Regions from separate parts of the Homo sapiens genome. Here region 2 is linked to region 1. Evidence: promoter capture Hi-C in 16 types of primary human blood cells and fetal thymus (Javierre and others, 2016). All regions are on one chromosome and are shown on one strand. Each heading gives the region's core, a stretch centred on a gene start or on the middle of the fragment in contact. The rest is flanking DNA. Distances are from core to core; before and after follow the strand shown. Region 1 holds the start of ZNF33B (zinc finger protein 33B). Region 2 holds the start of ZNF487 (zinc finger protein 487).

Region 1 (2,985 bases), core at 224-2,723:
TGTCCTCTGACACTTCGGAATAGGGGGTAGAAATGGTGAAAGAACACCCTAATACAACTCCAACATAACCATGTAGCTCTTGGGCACAAGATTTTTCATCAGGTGAAAGTAAATATTTGCTTCCTAAGGATTTCAATCTCCCTCAGTCTTCACAAAAAATGTATAATGACAATATTGGCCAAACAAGTTAACAATACATTTAATGAAAAAACATTAACACTAAAACCATTGTAAAGAATAGGACTAGGCTATCGATTTTCCCAGTAATGTTACTTAACCTCTGATGAGTTAGTCCACAGAAAACCATAAGCGTCAGTGCTTCAAAGAAAAAATCCGTTTTAATTTCTTCATCTAACTTTGTTGCTATTTCTCAAAAGGATGTTTTAAACTTGCTTTGATGTGTGTAGAAAAGTAGTACTGGCTTAGGGGTCAGGAGAAGTGACTTTTAGTTCTCCCTACTAACAAACTTTGATCCTGAACAAGTCAGTAACCTTGACAAACAAAAAACAAAAAAATTATTTTTTCTTCTAACAAATGAGGCAAAATTAGGTAATTCTGGTTTTTTGTTTGTTTGTTTGTTTTTGAGACGGAGTTTCGTTCTTGTTGCCCAGTCTGGAGTGCAATGGTGCAATCTCAGCTACCTGCAACCTCCGCCTCCCGGGTTCAAGCATTTCTCTGCCTCAGTAGCTGGGATTACAGTCATAGGCCACCACGCATGGCTACTTTTAGTATTTTTAGTAGAGACGGGGATTTGCCATGTTGGTCAGGCTGGTCTCGAATTCCTGACCTCAGGTGATCCACCCTCCTCGGCCTCCCAAAGTGCAGGATTACAGGAGAGAGCCACCGCGCTAGGCCAAAATTATGTAATTCTTGAAGATCCTTCCTGAGTGCAAGATCAAGTTAGGACAGAGGAACAGCAAATAACAAGATGGGGTGATGGACATGACTGGAGGGCAGTTCGAAACCTAAAGAGGATGAACGCAGAACGGGCAACAGAGTCCGTATGTCGGGCGGGCGACTGCACCCGCCCTTTCCTACCCAGGTAGGGCCGCGCCCTAGCACATGGGCGTAAACACGCTCAACCAGAGAACTGCCCCTCCCGCAAGGCTCAGCGCTCGGACCGCGCAAGCGCACATGCCCTCCTCCGCGGCCCCTACAAACAGGGCAACGCACAGGGCGTAGCCCGCTCCCTACAGAGGCTGCGCCTTAGAGGAACTGGCGTAGCGTCCTGGTAGACATGCTGCAGCCCCGCCGTCCCCGGCTTCTCCGTGAGGTCCCCGGGACTCCTCGCCACCACCTGGCACTGGCCCCCGGCTGCCTGCTCCTGGAGTCGCGCGGGGCCCCCTCTCCGTCCCTGCCCAACCCGCGGAGGCTTACCTCACTCTCTCTTCGGGTTGCATTCGCCATAAGAGAGCCGGTAGACCCCTGAAATCCCGGGACCGCCTCCCACGCAAAACGTGAGACAAACAAAAGGAAAGGCGGAAACGCAGAAACGCAGAGGTAGCCAGTGGATGAGGCATGCGCAGAGCCCACGCTCAAAGCCTGGCGCTGTTGGCGCCCAACCTGGAAACTACCTTTCCCGTGAGGACGCGAGAGCAGCCCTTCGGGATTGGCAGAGAGGTGCCCCGCTAGGCAGTGGACAGATGCGGTCTGAGTTGGTGTGGGAACTGCCCGCAGCCCTGGCTCTCCCGGGGCGACCCAAAGGGATGCACTGCAGGGGAGGTCTGTGTGCAGCAAGTGTGCAGGTTAGACACAGACGCCTCAAGGAAAGGACAGCTGTGTGTCAGTTTCACTTTAAATGTTAGGAAGTAGATCTTATTGATACAGTTTAAAAGACTTTGACACTATCAGCGATTCTTTGAGAGCAGGGATGGGGGGGATGGGGGAGGTGCCACAGGAAAGCTACTTCATCAAAATCGTTAACGCAATAAACGGAAATTGAAAAGTCAGAAAATAGACATAATCCGAAAGAAGAAAATAAATGTCACATGATTTCCCCTGTGACATTAAAATTGCTTGACTAAATGGAAATACATTTAGTCTATCTGTACCTTTCTTAGGAAGACAAAATTCCTAAAAGAATATCAACAAATTTTTTTATGTATTTTTTCTCTTTGATCTTTAGTGTATTGTGTACTTTACAAAAGCATTGTCAACTTTATCCAGAGTAAGTAAAAAACTAAATGAACAGCCATTATACGTTTTAAAAAGCTTGAAAAAATGCCTGAGAAATATCTATATCTATCTATATATATAATATTGCTCTATTCAAAGTAGTTTGGCACCTGCTCCATGGAAATAAGACACCATGATTGAGAGTATTCTTTAATGTGTAGTAAATACAGCATTTCAAAACAGTGAGGGAAAGAATGGAGTATTCCAAAGAGCATGTCATTCCTAACAATTTGGAATATAGAGATATATATAGATCACACGTGATAAAATTCACATGTATACAGTATTGAAACATTTAAACGAGTATAAATTTTTGAAAATTGACATGTGGGCCAGGCACAGTGGCCCACACCTGTAATCCCAGCAGTTTGGGAGGTGGAGGCAGGAGGACCACTTGATCCTTAGAGTCCAAGACCAGCCTGGGCGTTATAGTGGGACCCCTGTCTCTACAAAAAATTAAAAATAACAATTAGCTGGGCATGTAGGCAGGCGCCTGTGATCCCAGCTACTCAGGAGGCTGAGGTTGGACGATCACTTGAGCCCCAGGTTGCAGTAAGCCATCATGGCACCACTGCACTCCAGCCTGGGTGACAAAGTGAGACTTTGTCTCAAAAAAAACCAAAAAGGGATGTGATACCAAAGACAGAAACTATAAATTTAATATCAGTTACATTTTATAATAGAGAAAAATAAGCAGCTCCATTCCAGCAAAACTTTTTAAGTCCATTATGAGAATTGAAAGAAATGCAAATATGGCCGGGCATGGCAGCTCACGCCTGTAGTCCCAGCATTTTGGGAGGCTGAGGCGGG
Region 2 (2,985 bases), core at 339-2,838, 800 kb after region 1:
CACGCCCGGGCTTTTTATTTTTTTTCTTAATGATGCTGCACCTAATCACATTTAGGTGGCAGGCAAAAGAATATTGCTTAGCTGCTTTGCTACAGAAATGACAACTCTTGGGCAGGGGCGCGGTGGCTCACGCCTGTAATCCTACCACTTTGGGAGGCCGAGGCCAGTGGATCACCTGAGGTCAAGAGTTCGACACCAGGCCGGGCACGGTGGCTCATGCCTGTAATCCCAGCACTTTGGGAGGCCGAGACGGGCGGATCACGAGGTCAGGAGATCAAGACCAACCTGGCTAACACGGTGAAACCCCGTCTCTACTAAAAATACAAAAAATTAGCCGGGCGTGGTGGCGGGCGCCTGTAGTCCCAGCTACTCGGGAGGCTGAGGCAAGACAATGGCGTGACCCTGGGAGGCGGAGCTTGCAGTGAGCTGAGATCGCGCCACTGCACTCCACCCTGGGTGACAGAGCGAGACTCCGTCTCAAAAAAAAAAAAAAAAAAAAAAAAAAAGAGTTCGACACCAGCCTGGCCAAAATGGTGAAACCCCATCTCTACTAAAAACAAAAAAAATTAACCGGGCGTGGTGGCGGACGACTGTAATCCCAGCTACTCGGGAGCCTGAGGTAGGAGAATCACTTGAACTCGGGAGGCGGAGGTTGCAGTGAGCCAAGATCGCGCCACTGCACTCCAGCCTGGGCAACAAGAGCGAAACTTCGTCTCCAAAAAAAAAAAAAAAAAAAAGGACAACTTTTGATCCCTGAGGCTGCTAATTCCAACTGTGTGCATGTGCTTAACAAATACCTCCGCACCCAGGCCTGGGAAGTTGGCTGATTTGTGTACAGCAAATACGGCAGGCCTGATGTAGCAGAACTCTGACGAAAACGAACTGGACGCGTATTTCTCCTGCAGCGAAGGTCACGCTGCTGACAGCCTCTGCTTTGCACTTTGTCCCTGGGAAGGAGGCCTGTGGCCAGTCCTACCTCCTGGAAAGCCGGGGTGCGTCAGAGGACCTGATGCGGAGCGGGGACCCCATCCTCTCCGTGTCTCCCCAAGAGCCGGCGGCAGAGGCTGCCTGCGCTCCTTAAGCTAGGTCAGTTCTCTGGCCCGCAGTTCTCGTTCTCCTAACATCCTCCGCAGAAAACGACCTTCATTTTTTCCTCTTGCGCCAGTCTTGAAGCGGGGCGTCCTTTGGGCTCACGTTGCGGCGCCCAGCGGCCTCAAGCGTCAGCTGCCTCCAGGGCCTCAGGAGCAGTGGCTAGGGCCTGCCCTCCAGCGCCCGGGGTCCTCGGCCCAGCCCTGCTCCGAGCGCGTCACAATGGCGTCGCGGCCCCGCCCCCGGACGCCCAGCCGCGGTCCCAGCGACCTTCGCTTTCGTGGGGAAGCCGGACTGCGCCGTGTCTTCCTGAAGAAGGCTGGGGTAAGAGTCCGGCCAGCGGACAAGAGGGCAGCTGGTAGCAGGGTGGGATGCCCGTGGCATAGGGCCGAGCCCCCGCTAGGCACGCGGGAGCAGCAAGGCTTCCGGAAGCGCAGGGAGCGCTGGACTGGCGGGCGCCCGGGATTCGCGCAGGCCCCGCCCCTCGGCGGCCCCGCCCAGGGAGCGCTGCGGCAGTTTCCATGGTGAGATGGTCAACAAGCCTGTAAGTTCCTCAGCTACGACTACCAGGTACCTCGGGTTCCTCCCTCCTCCGAGAGACCGCCGAGGTGCGGGCTGTGAGAGGGGGAGCGTGGAGCCTCCGAGGCCGAGGTGAGGGGCGGCCGGCGGGCAGGGGCCGGGTCTGAGGTCGAGGGCCGCACACCCAGGATCGAGCGGGGACTGGGCCCGCTGGGGGTGGGGACCGTGGGGCTGGGATTTGGGATCAGGGCGAGTCGTGGCAGAGAGAACCCGGAGGATCTTTGACCCCAGTGCGGGAGCGGCCAGCCCACCCTAGAGAAGCGAGACAAGGGCAACCAGAAGGAACCGAGTCTGAGGAAGCGCTTCCTCTGGGCAGGGATATTGGGAGAGTCCTGGACGAGTGACCCTGGACCTAGGAGGCATGAGAGGTCTACACACACTTGCAAGGATACCTTCATGATTGTTGAGTTGTGGTGAGAAAAGAGGCTCTTTTTAGTTTATTTTTTAAGGCAGTACATTCACATCCTTAAGAGTCAGAAACTTGCACAAGGCCTTATTACTCAAAACTCCCTTTTCCCAGTTCCTTCTGAGGAAATAGTTGCAAATCTTTGAACTTTTTTCCTCCGGAAATTTTCTTTTTTTCTCTTACATCGGCAGCTCTTCACTGTGTTCTTCCTTCATTAGCTTTACTAAGTTTGTATTCTTTGGTTGGAAATATTTATTTATTTATTTATTTATAAATAGAAACAGGGGTATCACTATGTTGCTCAGGCTGGTCTTGAACTCCTGGGCTCAAGTGATTCTCCTGCTTTAGCTTTCCAAAGTGCGGGGATTACAGGCTGAACCACCGCCTGCCACCGAAATATTTCTTCATTGAGTTCCTTTGCCTCCTAGTGTTACTTTTCTGCTGTGTGTGTAATAGCCATTTGTTTTTTCTTTCTCCTTTCTGGTCATATCCTTAAATACATTTTGCACTAATTCCTTTTGAAACCTCATCATGGAGAGAACTTGAATTTAGCAGATTAGGGGTGAGTGCAGGCTTTTGTCTTAGGTTCCATATATATATATATTTTGAGGTGGAGTCTCCCTCTGTCGCCCAGGCTGGAGTGCAGTGGCGTGATTTTGGCTCACTGAAACCTCCACCTCCTGGCTTCAAGCAATTCTCCTGCCTCAGCCTCCCAAGTGACGAGGGTTACAGGCACGTGCCACCACACCCGGCTAATTTTTGTATTTTTAGTAGAGACAGGGTTTTGCCTTGTTGGCCAGGCTGGTCTCGAATTATTGACCTCAGGTGATCCACCTGCCTCAGCCCCCCAAAGTGCTGGGATTACAGGCGTGAGCCACTGCACCCAGCCCCCATATATTAAGAAATATACC

What was found. Contacts are between HindIII fragments. The CHiCAGO score rates a contact against its expected background, and 5 or more counts as called.
Region 2: a contact is called between the fragment with the promoter of ZNF487 here and the fragment with the promoter of ZNF33B in region 1, in 3 of 17 cell types (total B cells, total CD8 T cells and fetal thymus). The highest score is 6.1, in total B cells.

Annotation. Positions count from the first base shown.
Region 1 is chr10:42,637,097-42,640,081 of GRCh38, forward strand. ZNF33B (zinc finger protein 33B) reads right to left here and starts at 1,474. Exons shown (of 5, transcript NM_006955.3): 1 at 1,378-1,474. It overlaps LOC105378268 (a long non-coding RNA gene), which reads left to right and starts at 1,209. Exons shown (of 2, transcript XR_945898.3): 1 at 1,209-1,457. RefSeq lists enhancers at 236-1,104, 764-1,033 and a silencer at 1,224-1,393. The HindIII fragment of the contact is 7,213 bases long and covers 1-2,209 here.
Region 2 is chr10:43,435,523-43,438,507 of GRCh38, forward strand. ZNF487 (zinc finger protein 487) reads left to right here and starts at 1,589. Exons shown (of 4, transcript NM_001355444.3): 1 at 1,589-1,740. RefSeq lists an enhancer at 1,044-1,113 and a silencer at 1,214-1,873. The HindIII fragment of the contact is 37,036 bases long and covers 1-2,985 here.